Linked DNA regions of Homo sapiens: region 2 is linked to region 1. Evidence: promoter capture Hi-C in 16 types of primary human blood cells and fetal thymus (Javierre and others, 2016). All regions are on one chromosome and are shown on one strand. The core of a region is centred on a gene start or on the middle of the fragment in contact, and the rest is flanking DNA. Distances in the headings are between cores, read along the strand shown.

Evidence for each region. The method cuts DNA at HindIII sites, captures the fragments that hold promoters and counts their contacts. A CHiCAGO score of 5 or more calls a contact.
Region 2: the fragment with the promoter of PLXNB3 here is called in contact with the fragment with the promoter of RPL10 in region 1 in 2 of 17 cell types (total CD8 T cells and non-activated CD4 T cells); the score reaches 5.6 in total CD8 T cells.

Annotation. Positions count from the first base shown.
Region 1 is chrX:154,392,777-154,400,478 of GRCh38, reverse strand. It overlaps RPL10 (ribosomal protein L10), which reads right to left and starts at 2,102. Exons shown (of 7, transcript NM_006013.5): 1 at 2,085-2,102; 2 at 1,937-1,982; 3 at 1,083-1,141; 4 at 885-992; 5 at 538-676; 6 at 1-15. The coding sequence starts at 1,959. LOC124905228 (a long non-coding RNA gene) reads left to right here and starts at 1,637. Exons shown (of 2, transcript XR_007068356.1): 1 at 1,637-2,894. SNORA70 (small nucleolar RNA, H/ACA box 70) reads right to left here and starts at 198; the gene lies at 64-198. RefSeq lists enhancers at 1-11, 558-1,101, 1,102-1,647, 1,970-2,179, 2,192-2,737 and 1 more and silencers at 2,740-2,809, 2,880-3,059. The HindIII fragment of the contact is 9,726 bases long and covers 1-3,162 here.
Region 2 is chrX:153,758,086-153,765,787 of GRCh38, reverse strand. PLXNB3 (plexin B3) reads right to left here and starts at 1,539. Exons shown (of 36, transcript NM_005393.3): 1 at 1,484-1,539; 2 at 208-317. The coding sequence starts at 252. PLXNB3-AS1 (PLXNB3 antisense RNA 1) reads left to right here. Exons shown (of 3, transcript NR_199696.1): 2 at 1,939-2,078. The HindIII fragment of the contact is 7,823 bases long and covers 1-2,495 here.

The DNA.
Region 1 (7,702 bases), core at 853-3,352:
ATGCCTGTTTGGAGCCTACATTGGGGTAGTGCAAGGTCAGAAACATGAACATCCACCTGAAAGGCCTGTCTCCAAGGTCCCTTAGAGCAACCCATACAACCAACAGGCTGCGTACACTACCAAGGAAGCTGCTGTGTGCAGCCATCGCACACTGGGTCCCCATGAGGAAAGGAACTCAGTCGGCTTAATTGGCTGCGGAGCATCCCAAGAACCACTGAAAAGGCGCCACTGGGCTCCTCTGCCAGCTTCAGCTACCTGCTGGCAAGATGGTTGTCATTCAGCTAAAAGCAAGAAGAGCTACTCCCATCACCAGTGTTTCCCCTAACCTGTGGGGAAGAGCTTGCTAAGACTTACTCATGCTTTGTTTGTATCTGCAGGAAGGGGTCCTGAGTGACCACTGAAAGTCACTTGCCAGCCTGGCTTTTCTAGTAGCCATAGTGGCTGAGTCACTGGGGCCACCTCTATGCTCTGATAAAATAATGCAAGCCTAATAATGTAGAGACTCCAACTGCCTTAAAAGGCCCAGACCAAGCTCACCTGTCAGCCCCAGCACAGGACAACATCTTGTTGATGCGGATGACGTGGAAGGGGTGGAGCCGCACCCGGATATGGAAGCCATCTTTGCCACAACTTTTTACCATGTACTTATTGGCACAAATTCGGGCAGCCTCCAGGGCTAGGTAGGGAGAAGAAAAGCAGCAAAGTGAGAGAAGATAATAGAGAAACATTCACCACGACTATCTCCAGCTCAGGGGAACTGTGTTGGCTGAGTTTTGTAAGGCTCATGTTTCATCAACTCCCAATTCCAGTGCAGTGTATGTGGGTGGGGTTGAGGGAGCACGGAGGAAGGACTGGGGGGTGACGAACAAAGAATCCTGCCTTACCTTCAGAGGACAGCTGCTCATATTCATCTGACACCATGTGGCCACAAAGCGGAAACTCATCCACTTTTGCCTTTTTCCGCCCCAGGTCAAAAATGCGAATCTTGGCATCTAAAAGGATTGGGTAAGTGTGCAGGGGGTGTCACAGACGGACGCGGAGTCCGCAGAGCCAACCAGTGCAGGGGCTCTTCCACTACTTACCAGGGACACCTCGGCAGAAGCGAGACTTTGGGTACGGCTTGTTCTTACAATACCGGTAACTGCAGGGGAGTGAAAAAACACAGGTTAGGTGAGGTTCACAGAAAGCCCAACAGGCACTTTGCCCCTCAAGGAACAACCCAAACGAGGGACGGGAAAAGGGTGGGGAATGCACGTCCACTTCTAAACCGTTTCCATTCGGGGAAATAAACTACAAAGCAACAGTTGGCTGCTGCAACACAGACAACACCCAAGACTAGAAACAACAGACACCATCTTCCGTTACTTTGTCTTACGCTTCCTATAAACACTTTGCAACAAACTTTCCTAGTTAAAAATTCTCTCTTCAAGACACTGCGTACTACAAAATCGCCGCATTATCATTGCACAGCTCAGGTCACCCAATTTAAGACTTTCGGGCACGTGGCACTAAATCCACCTCCAAGCCGAGTGGAAATGCGTCTGGCGCCCCCTGTAGGACACAGGAGGCGGCCGCACCCGTTTTTCCCGGACTGCCCTTCACGTCCGACAACGCACGCGGCACGTCGCCCGGAAATAAGACAGAGAACGCACACAAAGGCCCCAAGAGCGTATCTAGCGCCCGAAAATGCGGTGAGCTTGCAGGACACAGGCAGAGATACGAGGGAACCGTCGCTTCCACACCGACACGGGAACGAAGGAACAGACAGTAATATTGCAGACTAAAAAATAGCCGGGAGGTGTAAAACATAGGGTCAGTTCCCAAGACAGGGCCGCCGCACGGGGGAGGCTCCACCCCACAATTGTTTTCAGCGGCCATAGGCACTTCTTTCCCCGCCCGTTTCCCAGCAGTGAAAGTACACGGATTCAAGACTCACCAACGGGCGGGGCGGCGGCCCATGGCGACACCAGGATCTTCAGTGGCTGCAACGAAAAAGAGAGAGTCGGAACGGAAGACGAGAACAGACCTAAAAGGTGTGAGAACCAGCAACGGCACCGCAAGAGACGACAACTGCGCTTACTCACCACACCGAAGGGAAAGAGGCGCTCCTCCGCCTGCGCATGGCTTATATAGGCGGTCTGTCTGCGCGCGTAAGAACCATAGAGTCCTGTCGAAGACGGGTGGACGCTCTGTCAGACGTCATGACCATAGACGCAGCCGCTCTTGGCGCTTGCGCCCGGGCGTAGCCCAGCACATGCGCAGATCAGAGAGGTGACCGGGTACCAGGGCCGCGGGCGGCCAGCTGACGAATGGGGCTTCGCCACATGGTCGCGAGAAGCCCGCTTCCGGCTGGCCATCTTGGGCGTAGAACTCTTGCCCTAGGCTTTGCCGTTAACTGTGACAGACGTATATTTCTGAGAGTGGAAAAAAGGAAAGTACCCTAGGTGGGCCTCCCGGCGACCGCGAGAGTGTCCCTGAGCTTGCACGGGTCTCGGACACGCGCTCCGTGCCTCCTTCTAGGCTAGAGGCCCCGGCGGTGAAGCGCCATACGGGGATCTGGGCCCGCGTTCCTTTGTCAACCCGGGAGGCCGGAGGGGGAGACCCATTCCCCTACCGGAGAGGCTGGACCAGGCCTTGCTGGGAGCCATGCCCCGTATCCCCGTTTCCTGGAGACCCAGGGTTCGCACATTGCCGCGGGGAAGAGGTCGAGGAGAAATCTCCACGGAGACTCATGGCCTGGGAAACCCCGGGGCATCTCTAGCCCCGCTCCGCCCACCCTGACCCGCACCGTCCCGACCAGCTGCGTCTCGGGCGCCGCCTCCCATGAGCCGCTCTCGCCTGGGCACCGCCCCACCTCGCCCTTCCCACTCCACTGTGCTCAAGAGTCCCTCCGGGTGCGTCTGGGGGTCGTGGGGAAGCAGGGCCGCCCCCACCCGCCCACGGGGCAGCATCCGGGGAGAGGTGCGCAGAGCAGGCGGGCGTCCTGGGGGAAGTGGCATCTGGAGGTATCTGTCCACCATTCTGCAGGTGGGGCGCGGTGGGGTAACAAAGTCTTCCCGTCCTTTGACAGGAAGGACGGGAGGAAATCCTGCTCGAGCGCACCTGTTTTCCAGGATGATATGTCGCTTTTATAAATGGCTGCAGGTCCCTTTGAGAAAAGCTTGGGACGATTTCTGGGGTGCACTTGCAGCAGTGGTGCAAGGTCCTTCCCAGGGGAACCTAGCCTCCCTTTCCATCATGGGACTCTGGATGCCGGCGGTGACTTAGGTCTGGAAACTGGGTTCGAGGCTGTAACACCACTGGGGCAGTACAAGTCAGGAATTGCGGCGGAGTGCCGTGGCTCACGCCTGTGATCTCAGCACTTTGAGGGGCGGAGGTGGGCGGATCACTTGAGCCCAGGAATTTGAGACCTGGACAACATGGCGAAAAACCGCCTCTACAAAAATTAAAAACTAAAAATTGGCTGGGCGCAGTGGCTCACGCCTGTAATTCCAGCACTTTGGGAGGCCGAGGCGGGCGGATCATGAGGTCAGCAGATCGAGACCAGCCTGGCCAACATGGTGAAACCCCGTCTCTACTAAAAATACAAAAATTAGCTGGGCATGCTGGCTGGTGCCTGTAATCCCAGCTGCTTCGGAGGCTGAGGCAGGAGAATCGCTTGAACCCGGGAGGCGGAGGTTGCAGTGAGCCGAGACCACGCCATTGCACTCCAGCCTGGGTGACAGAGCGAGACTCCGTCTCAGAAAAAAAAAAAAAAAAAAAAAAATATATATATATATATATATTTAAAAATTAGCCAGGCGTGGCGGCACACTCTAATCCCAGCTGAGGTGGGAGGATCGCTTGAGCTCAGGACGCAGAGATTGCAGTGAGCTGAGATCACACCACTGTACTCCAGCCTGGGCGACAGAGCAAGACTGTCTCAAAAAAATTCGTGTATGGCCGGGCGCTGTGGCTCACGCCTGTAATCCGAGCGCTTTGGGAGGCCGAGGCGGGCGGATTACCTGAGGTCAGGAGTTCAAGGCCAACCTGGCCAACATGGTGAAACCCTGTCTACTAAAAATACAAAAATGAGCCGGGTGTGGTGGCACACACCTGTAATACTAGCTACTTGGGAGGCTGAGGCAGGAGAATTGCTTGAGCCCGGAAGACAGAGGTTGCAGTGAGCCGAGATCATGCCACTGCACTCCAGCCTAGTCTACAGAGAGAAACTATCTCAGAAAAAAAAAAAAAAATCTGCCTACAGGGCGGGTGCAGTGGCTCACGCCTATAATCCCAGCACTTTGGGAGGCTGAGGTGGGTGGATCAATTGAGGTCAGGAGTTGGAGACCAGCCTGGCCAACAGGGTGAAACCACGTCTCTACTAAAAATATAAAAAAATTAGCTGGGCATGGTGGCGCATGCCTGTAATCTCAGCTACTCGGGAGGCTGAGGCAGGAGAATCTGGCTTGAACCTGGGAGGTGGAGGTTTGAGTGAGCCAAGATCACACCACTGCACTCCAGCCTGGGACCACAGAGCAAGACTCATCTGTCTCAGAAAAAAAAGAAAAAAGAAATTGCACCTACAGTCTCCTCACTCTCTAGTGGGCGTTAAAATGAGCTTTCTGTAGCCAGTTTGGGCAGACGGAGGATACAGCCTAATCCTGGGTGCCCTAGTAGGTCGTGCAGGCTGTTCTCTGCACAAGGACATCTTCCTGGGGAGCGAGAGGGCTGAAATCCCTCCCGTGTCCTCGCCTCCAGCCGAGTACCTGCCCCGAGAGCAGAGTGCCTCTTGCTGATCCGCACATAAGCCTGCAGGGGTGGGTGGGGGCCCTGGAGCCCAGACAGGCACCAAGGAATCTTGCAGCCCTACAAGGTGAGGACGGGGGAACTGTCGGAGTTCCACCTGTTGGCTCCTCTCCCTCCTGACCTTCCCACGGGAATCCTTCCAACTGTTGGCTCAAAGAAATTGAAGTGGGTTTCTCCATTGCTACCCTCGCCATCTAGGACTCCACTGTCTTTTTTTTTTTTTTTTTTTTTTTTCTGAGATGGAGTTTCGCTCTTGTTGCCCAGGCTGGAGTGCCATGGCACGATCTCAGCTCAGTGCAACCTCTGCCTCCCGGGTTCAAGCAATTCTCCTGCCTCAGCCTCCCGAGTAGCTGGGATCACAGGCATGTGCCACCATGCCTGGCTTATTTTGTATTTTTAGTAGAGACAGGGTTTCTCCGTGTGGTCAGGCTGGTCTCAAACTCCTGACCTCAGGTGATCTGCCCGCCTCAGCCTCCCAATGTGCTGGAATTACAGGTGTGAGCCACCACGCCCGGCTTTTTTTTTTTTTTAATTGAGACAGGGTCTTGCTCCGTTGCCCAGACTGGAATGCAGTGGCATGATCAACACTCACTGCAGCCTCGAACTCCTGGGCTCCAGAGATGCTCCTGCCTCAGCCTCCCAATCGGCTGGGACTACAGGCACACGCCACCATGCCTGGATAATTTTTTTTTTCTTTTGTAGAGATGGGGCCTTATTAGGTTGCCCAGACTGGTCTTGAACTGCTGGAGCCAAGTGATCCTCCTGCCCTAACCCTAACCCAAAGTGCGGGGATTACAGGCAGGAGCCAACGTGCTTGGCCAGACTCCATGGTCTCTTACCTGGACCAGGACGATGGCCCCACCCAGGCCCTCAGAACTGTGGGATGAGGTGTTTGCTTCTGGCTCACCCACGAGAAAGAAACTCCCGGAAGGAAGGGACCGTGTCTGGAGCGCTCCAACTCCAGGCCCCAGACTGCAGGTATCCCTTGCCAACAGAGCTGAGGCCAGCAGGGGAAACCATTCCTGCCACCTGGACTAAGAATGAGATCCTCTTGAAAAAAACAATATTAAGAAGTGGGCTCTTCCCATCACGCCACCAGAGTCCCAGGAAGCCAGGGATGTGGGTGTCTAATGGTCCGGGACAAGATGATGGGAAACTTCACATGGAGAAGAAAATGCCCAAGAATGACTGAAACTGTCTGCAAGGTCCTGCTAAGGGAGCTGGCAGGTGCACCAGGTATGGCGAGATGCAAAGCAAGGAGCCCACTGCATCGTTCCCTGGAAGGACAAGTGCAGAGGAGACCACAGATGCCTGCGCATTTAGCGGGAGTATGGCAGTGCCATCATGGGGGAAAGGCTGTGTGACAAATGGTATGGAGGAGACTGACTGTCCCTTAGAAAATGGGAAAGGAGCCAGGCGCGGTGGCTCACGCCTGTCATCCCAGCACTGTGGGAGGCCGAGGCGGGGGGATCACTTGAGGTCCGGAGTTCAAGACCAGCCTGGCCAACACGGTGAAACCCCGTCTCTACTAAAAATGCAAAAACTAGCCAGGCATGCTGGCGTGCGCCTTTAGTCCCAGCTACTCGGTAGGCTGAGATGGGAGAATTGCTTAAACCCAGGAGGTGAATGTTGCAGTGAGCCGAGATCGCGCCACTACACTCCAGCCTGGGTGACAGAGTGAGACTCTTTCAAAAAAAAAAAAAAAAAAAGAACAGAACAAACATAAGAAAATGAAACATCAGTGTTCTTGAACCCAGCAATCCTACCCCTTGATAACCTCAGCAAGAGCAATTCTCCCTTCTCGCTAAGGCCACATTCCGTGCCATGGCCTTCGTGGCATGGTTTGTGGCACACCAGGAGCTGAAGCCCTGGGGTTGCATCACTCAGGGTGGGAATGATCAAATGTGTTGCATCCAAGCTCTGAAATCCTCTGCAGGAGCACAGGAGTCAACTGTACGTCTCCAGGGCCACAGACAAAGAGCTGAGAAACCCTGTTGAATGACGGAAGCAGTCAGCAGAATAGGAATGCAGCACAGGGACAGTTACGGTGGGCAAAACCATACACACAAAAAATCCACAGGTGCAGGGCAGTGGCTCACGCCTGTCATCCAAGCACTTTGGGAGGCCGAGACGGGCAGATCGCTTGAAGCCAGAAATAGGAGACCAACCTGGGCAACAGGGTGAGACCTCGTCTCTACAAAAAAATAAAATTAGCTGGCGTGGTGGCACATGCCTGTAGTCCTAGTTACTCCAGAAGCTGAGGTGGGAGGATCACTTGAGTCTGGGACATCAAGGCTGCCGTGAGCTATGATCACACCACTGCACTCCAGCCTGGGTGACAAAGCGAGGCCCTGTCTCAGAAAACTAAAATACAATTGAACAAACACATTCCAAATGACACCACATTTTAAATGACCCCTTTGGGAGGGAGGGGAACAGGACTAGGAAACAGGGAAGAAGGAAAAAGCGAAAAGCTACAGTTCTCCCATCTAATTTTCAGCTACCTAAAAAGCTGTTAGCCCAAAAGGTGCTGGTGAGGCTGTGGGTAAACGCTGAGGGTACAATGCGAGGGACGGACAGTATCAAAGGTAGGGTCTTTAGGGGAGGCAATTCCCTAGTGTCTCTTACAATTTTAAATGCAGGCCACACAAGGTGGGACACATCTGTAAAACCAGCACTTTGAGAGGCCAAGGAGGGAGGACTTGAGCCCAGGGGTTCAAGACCAGCCTGGGCAACACAGTGAGACCCTGTCTGTACAAAAAGAAGTTTTCTAAAAAAGCCAGGGATGGTGGCACACACTTGTGGTCCCAGCAGCTCAGGAGGCTGAAACAGGAAGATCACTTGAGCCCAGGAGGTTGAGGCGGTGGTGAGCTGTGATCGAGCCACTCCACTCCAGCCTGAGCGACAGACTGAG
Region 2 (7,702 bases), core at 290-2,789, 630 kb after region 1:
AGCGCCTGGAGGAAGGCCCAGGAGCCGCTTATCTCAGGAACACAGGCAGGAAGAGCACGGACACTTCCTGCGGACCCCGGGCTATCTGGGGCAGTGTCTGCCATGAGGGAGGCTGCAGCCTGTATGTCCTGGGCCTGGCCACAGCCATCCTGCCCTACCCTGCCCCTCCCAGGAACATTTCTGGGGACACCGGGCCTGGGCACTTACCATGAAGTGGTGCAGCAGAGGGGTCTCCTGGGCGGCGTGGCACATACGCTCAGTTCAGCTGCCCCAGGGCAGTGGCGATGGGCATGAGATGGCTGCGGGGGGGCATTGTCCTGAGTGGGAGGGAGACAGTCGAGGCTCAGCCCCATTCGAGCTGGCCTGGGGAAGGAGGGGCGGCGGTGGGGGTGGCGCCCAGGGCCTAGCGACCGGGCTCCCTCACAGCTGGCAGCTTTGTCAATAGTGGCCAGGCCAAGGCAGCCCTGCCTCCACCACAACAATGTTCCCTCTGTCCAGAGGCCAGGCCAGGGCCCCACTCGCTAGTGCTGTCACCCCCACTGGGCTGTTCTGGACAGGGGGCTCCTTGCCACTTCCCACCCTCAGGGAGCCACCCCCGGGATCCGGGGACAAAGGGCCGGGGTTTCCTCCAGCCAGCCCTCCCCCTCTGGCCCTGCAACCCCTGTGTCACTAAGCATGCCCCTCCCTGGCTCCCCGGGTCCCTGTGAAGGGCACGGGGTGGACCTTGGAGCCCCTGCAAATGCCGGCTGGTAGCCTTGGGGCCTGGGTGAAGTGCCAGTCCTGGCCCTCAATGCCTGCCTTTGTCCAAAAGATCTTCCTCCACACCCCCAGCCCAGCCCTGCCCCTGGGGACTGGTGAAGTGGTGCCAGGTACAGCATGGTGGCAGCGAGCAGGACCACGGGAGGAGGCTGCTTGAGATGGGCTGAGGCAGAGGGTCCACAGGCCGGGGCTGTCCACCCCACCCTCTGAAGCACCGTCCTGCTGGCCTAGATGCCATCCATGCAGGGGATGGGGAAGGGAGGGGCACCTAGCAGCTAGACCCCCTGTCACCCTCACAGGCCACCCTGGCCAGTGGCACAGGAGCAGGTGCACTGGGGATGGGGTCTCTGCCTCCCCCACAGCACGGCAGCAGTAGGCTCCAGGGCAAGGTGGCAGTGGGCTGCTGTCACCTGGCTGGGCCAGTTGGGTGGCTGTGGGGGTGGGGAGCCAGGCGGGCAGCCTCTCTACCCTGTACCCTGCCCGAGGCTGGCGTTGGCTTTCCCATTTCGGGGAAGAAACATGGTTCCCCACCTCCTAACCCCAGGGCTACCACTTGGGGGACACCGTGCTCCCAGACACCTAGTGCCGTCGTCAGGCTGGGCCGACACCCGAGCGCTCTTGCCTGACCCCAGCCAGTTGGCCCTGAGACCCTGATGCCTTGCCCTGAGGCTGGTAGCCCCTGCACCCCAAGCCCAAGCCCAAGCCTGCCCCAGCTCTTGCCTACCTGGTGGGCCACCGGCGAGGGCCAAGTAGCAGCTGGCGGTGCCAGGAGCACGTCTCACAGAGCCCCAGCCTCCCTCCCCACAATGCAATCGTGCCCAGTCCGACTCATCCCAACAAGCCCGGCCAGGCAGCCCAGCCTCTCTCCGCCCGCCCCTTTGCCCAATGGCACAGGGCAGGATGTTGCTGCCCTCTGCTGGCCGCAGCGGGCATGATGGAGTACTGACCGTGGGCACCTGGCAGGTGAGAGACGGCAGCGCCCTCCTATTGGGTGGGCATTCCATAACCTGGCACGAAGCACCTACTGGATGCCAGGCTTGGGCTTGGCACTGGCACCATCCAGAAACAAACACAGGTTGGGAAACTGAGGCACAGGAGGTTAGGAAACTTGAATAAAGTCACACAGCTAGTATGTGGCAAGGCTGAGTCAATCACAGGGCCCCTTCACTTAACCGTCAGGCTACATGACCTTGAACCATGAACCTTGGCAGGCGTTGGGCAGGAGATGGAGCTGAGGCCTACCCCAGGCCAGGCCTGGACGTGACATGCCCACGTGGCGTTGAGGAAAAACCAGTGTTTCCCACCGACTGGAACACAAGGTTGGTCAAGGGCCGTCTCCCAGGGTGTGGCGGAGGTCAGCAAATCAGGTGGGGTCTTTGTGGCCAGGCTTGAGAACTTGAACTTGTCTCGCCATGGGCAACTGCAAGCTGGTGGCACTGGGGCAGAGAATGTGGGGAGGCCTGGTCCAGTGGTGGTCATGGGCATGGAGAGAGGCGGGCGCGTTCTAGAGGCGCTCTGGGGAGGCAGCATTCTGAAGACTGTGCGTTGGACCCAGGGCAGGAGGCGAAGGCAGGAGAATCCAGGCGACCCTGGGGCTTTTCTGCTGGGGCACTGTTCCCCCTGTGGCAGGGCCATCCACAGAGGGGCTGGCGGAAGTGGGAGGACGGTAAGACTGAGGGGCCCATGAGGGAGGAGGAAATGGTGATGGGGCTGGGGAGGCCTGGGGGTGAGAAGCTTGGCTCAGGTGGCTGGAGCCCTGGGGGCGGCCAGGGTATAGGGCCAGGTGTTGGCCCTGGAGCTCAAAGGCCCAGCAGACTCGGGGTATGGGTGCTTCCCTGAGCAGCTGTGTCATTCTTTCCAACCTGCATGGAGAGAAATGGGGCACAGAGGTGGGTAACTTGCCCAGGGCCATGACCTGACGTCGTTTCTTCAGAGTGCATTCCACAGAGATGGGATTTGAACCTGGGCATTCTGGCACGGGCCACGCTCTGGACCACTGGGCCCCAGATCCACAGCTTCTCACCTGCAGCCGCTGAGGATGTGGAGGCAGACCAGGCAGGCCCGTGGGAAGGACCACCAAAAAGCGAGTGAGCAGCCGGCGAGGGGTCTCTCCCCAACAGGAAGGCCAGGCAGCCTTGAAGGAGCCAGGGAGGGATTTAGAAGCTCCAGGAGGGGAGGCTTGGGGGAGCCAGCTGGCCTCTCTCCCTCTCCCTGTCCTTCCCCCCATGCCTACCCCAACACACACACACATGTCCTTGCTGGCCCCGGATGAGACAGACGCCTGCAATCTGGCATGGGGAATGGGTTTCTCCTTCCTTTCCACAGAAGAAAATAAATCAGGCTGGGCGTCGTGGCTCCCGCCTGTAATCCCAGCACTTTGGGAGCCTAAGGCAGCAGGATCACTTGGGCCCAGGAGTTCTAGACCAGCATGGGCAACATAGTGAGACCCCCATCTCTATAAAAAAATTTAAAAATTAGCCAGGCATGGTGGTGCGAGCCTGTAGTCCCAGCTACTTGGGAGGCTGAAGTGGGAGGATCGCCTGAGCCTGGGAGTTGGTGCCTGCAGTGAGCCGTGATGGTGCCATTGCACTCTAGCCTGGGTGACAGTGCAAGACTCTGTCTTTAAAAAAAAAAGAAAAGAAAGAAAGAAAAAAGAAAATAAATCCATCCACAGGCAGCACCATTTTCATAAATATGTGTGTATATGGCCTGCATATGCACCTTCTACGCTTTCTGAGCAGATAAGAGGCGTGGCTATGGCAGCCCCTGGTCTGAAGCTGGTGTAACCAGAAAGGATCTAGGCTGGTTTGGGGAACCGGAACATCTTATGTCAGGGGAGTCGTGCTGGATTTATCCTGCAATGGCCGGGTCCCCTCACCAAGGGATGGGAAGGCAGCGTCAACTGATCTGGTGTCGTCTCCTTGCTGTGTGCCAGGCTTCTCAATGCTGGAAGGGGACTCGTTGGGTCAGTGGGACGTGGGCTTCACGTTTGCTGGGCTGAAGACGTAGCTCTCCATGCTGGCATCCCAGCGGACACCCCCACTGCCACTGCTGCACCACGTCTTCACGTACACCAGAGAGCAGACTTGAGAGTTTCTGCGCATACAGTGGGTGTGAAATGGTGCCCTGCTGGGTTTTGAATCGGCATTCCTTGACCACCGGCCATATTGCAGCACTTTTCATTTCTTCTGTCAAATGCCCGTGCATGTCTTGGCTTACACTTTGCAGGTGTTCTGTATTTTCCACACCAATCCCTGGGGTGTATGTCTTCGGCCTACCTGTTACTTGTCTTCTCAGTTTGCTGATGTATCATGTGATAAACAGAAAGTCTTAATTTTAATATCATAGCATTTATCAATCTGATTTCTTTTTTTGAGACGGGGTCTCGCTCTGTCGTGCAGGCTGGGGTGCATTGGCGCAATCATGGCTCACTGAAGCCTCCTGGGCTCAAGTGATCCTCCCACCTTAGCCTCCCAAACACCTGGGACTACAGGCAGGCGCCACAGTGCCTGGCTAATTTTGTAATTTTTTTGTAGAGACAGGGTCTCGCTATGTTGCCCAGGCTGGTCTCAAACTCCTGGACTCAAGCGGCCCTCCCGCCTTGGCTTCCCAAAGTGCTGGCCCGTGAGCCTGTGAGCCACTGCGCCTGGCTACCTTCTTTTGAATTCCCATTCAGACTGTGTGTTGCTGGTACATAGAAAAACAATGGATTTCTATGTATCAAGTAACCTTGTAAACTCTCATATTAAGTCTAATAATTATGTTTGGGTTCTCTTTGTGGATTCTTTTTGATTTTCTGCGTACACAATCCTATCATCTGCAAGTAATGACCATTTTGTTTCTTCTATTCCAGTCTTTTTAGCTTTGATTTCTTTTTTTGAGGCAGAGTCTGGCTCTGTCACCCAGGCTGGAGTATAGTGGCACAATCTTGGCTCACTGCAACCTCCGCCTCCCTGGTTCAAGCAGTTCTCCTGCCTCAGCCTCCCAAGAAGCTGGGACTACAGGCACCCACCACCACGCCTGACTAATTTTTGTATCTTTACCAGACACAGGGTTTCACCATGTTGGCCAGGCTGATCTGGAACTCCTGATCCACCTGCCTTGGCCTCCCAAAGTGCTAGGATTACAGGCGTGAGCCACTGTGCCCGGCTGATTTCGTTTCCTTGCTTTACTTCCCTGGACTTGCTTTCTCTTGCTTTTACTTCCTTTGAATGAAAGCATAGGAGGCGCTGGGCATGGTGGCTCACGCCTGTAATCCCAGCACTTTGGGAGGCCGAGGTGGGTGGATCACCTGAGGTCAGGAGTTCGAGACCAGCCTGACCAACATGGAGAAACTCTGTCTCTACTAAAAATACAAAAAAATTAGCCGAGCATGGTGGCCCATGCTTGTAATCCCAGCTACTTGGGAGGCTGAGGCAGGAGACTCGCTTGAACCCAGGAGGCCGAGGTTGCGGTGAGCCAAGATCGAGCCATTGCACTCCAGCCTGGGCAACAAAAGCGAAACTCTGTCTCAAAAAAAAAAAAAAAAAAAAAAAAAAAGCATAGGAGGCATTCTCAGTGTTCCATTATTAAGTATGATGTTTGCAGGGAGCATTCGGTAGATATGTTTATCAGATTTAGAAAGCTCCCTCCCATTCCTAGTGTGCTATATGTTGAATTTTTATAAAATGCTTTTTCTGAATGCATTAATATGATCACAGGGTTTTCCTCCTCTAATCTGTTAATGTGGCAAATTACATTAATTCATTTTTAAATGTTAAACCACTCTTGTATTTTCTGGACTAAACTCAACTTTGCGTGATGTATTTTTTTCATATACAATTCTGGATTGGGTGGTTTTTTTTTTTTTTTTTAGCCTCGTATTATTATCCTCGTCTGGTTTTGGTATCAAGACATCGTAAAGTGAGTTGAGGCAGTATTTCCTTTTTCAGCTGTTCACTGGAACAGTTAGTCTAAGATGGAGATGATCAGTTACTTCCATGTTTGCTGGAGATCATCTGTAAAACCATCTAGGCCTTCCTTGTTTTTTATTTTCTGTTTTTTGTTTTGTTTCTTTTCTTTTCTCTTCTTTGTTTTTTTTGTTTTGTTTTGTTTTGTTTTGTTGTTGTTTTGAGACAGAGTCTCACTCTGTTGCCCAGGCTGGAGTGCAGTGGTACAGTCTTGGCTTACTGCAACCTCTGCCTCCTGGGTGCAAGCGATTCTCCTGCCTCAGCCTCCCGAGTAGCTGGGACTGCAGGCATGCACCACCACGTCCAGCTAAGTTTTGTATTTTTAGTAGAGACGGTGTTTCGCCATGTTGGCCAGTCTGGTCTTGAACTCCTGACCTCAGGTGATCTGCCTGCCTCGGCCTCACAAAGTGCTGGGATTACAGGCATGAGCCACCGCATCTGGCCTGGCCTTCCTTGTTTTTGTAGCTTCCTGCCTGTCCCCCTATAGATTTTAAACAATGAATCCAACTTCTGTAATAATTATGGGACCATTTAGGTTTTCTGTTTCTTCTTGAGTAATTTTTTTATTGTGGGAAAAAATACATAACACAAAATTTGCCATCTTTTTTTTTTTTTTTTTTGAGACAGGTCTTGCTCTGTTGCCCAGGCTGGGGTGCAGTGGCATAATCATTGTAACCTCAAACTCCTGGTCTCAAGCAATTCTCCTGCCTCAGCCTCCTGGGTAGCTGGGACTATAGGCATTCACCACCATGCCCAGCTAATTTTTAATTTAATTTTTTTTTTTGAGACAGATCTCACTTTGTCACCCAGGCTGGAGTACAGTGGCGTGATCTCAGCTCACTGCAACCTCTGCCTCCCGGGTTCAAGCAATTTTTGTGCTTCAGCCTCAAATTTTTAATGTTTTTGGTAGAGATGGGATCTTGTTACTTTGCCCAGGCTGGTCTCCCATTCCCAGACTCAATCAATCCTCCTACCTTGGCTTCCCAAAGCACTGGGATTACAGGTGTGAGCCACCATGCCCAGCCTCCAACTTTATTCTTTTGCATGTGGATATCAAGTTTCCCCTATACCATTTGTTGAAAAGACTGCCCTTTTCCCAATTTGTAGCCTTGATACCCTTGTCAAAAATCATCTGACCATATACTTGAGAGTTTCTTTCTGGGCTCTGGATTATATTCTGTCTCTGTCTTTATGCCAGGACCACACTGTAATATGTTTTATTTTGTAAATCAGGAAGTGTGAGTCCTCGAACTTTGTTCTCCTTTTTCAGAATTGTTTTGGTTATTTGGAGCCCCTTGAGATTCTATCTGAATTTAGGATGAATCATTCTATTTTGAGTCAATTTTTGATAAACAATATTTTTCTAGGAACATGCTTTTTTTTTTTTTTTTTTAGACAGAATCTAGCTCTGTCGCCCGGGCTGGAGTGCAGTGGCATGATCTTGGCTCACTGCAACCTTTGCCTCCTGGGTTCAAGCAATCCTCCTGCCTCAGCCTCTCGAGTAGCTGGGATTACAGGTGCCCGCTACCACGCCCAGCTGATTTTTGTATTTTTAGCAGAGACGGAGTTTCACTGTGTTGGCCAGGCTGGTCTTGAACTCCTGACCTCAGGTGATCCACCTGCGTCGGTCTCCCAAAGTGCTGGGATTACAAGCGTGAGCCACCGCGCCTGGCTGGAACATGCCCATTTTGTTTAAGTTTTCAAGTTTATTAGCATAAAGTGTTTTGGTTTTATTTTATCATTGATTTATTATTAATAAATGTCTTGGGTCAAAACCAGATGACGTTGCTTAATGTTCATTTATTGTTAACCTACAAAAATTGCAGTTTCATCTTGTTCAATCTAATACACACGGAAGAGCATATGCTGCTTAGATGAATCATCCCCACTGACAGCCATCATGGACCCTTCTTTTTCCCTTCGCAGTTAGTCCTAGCCTTTCCTTGGTTTTCTTTATACTTGTCCCAAATATGAATTAGCCTTAAACAATAAAT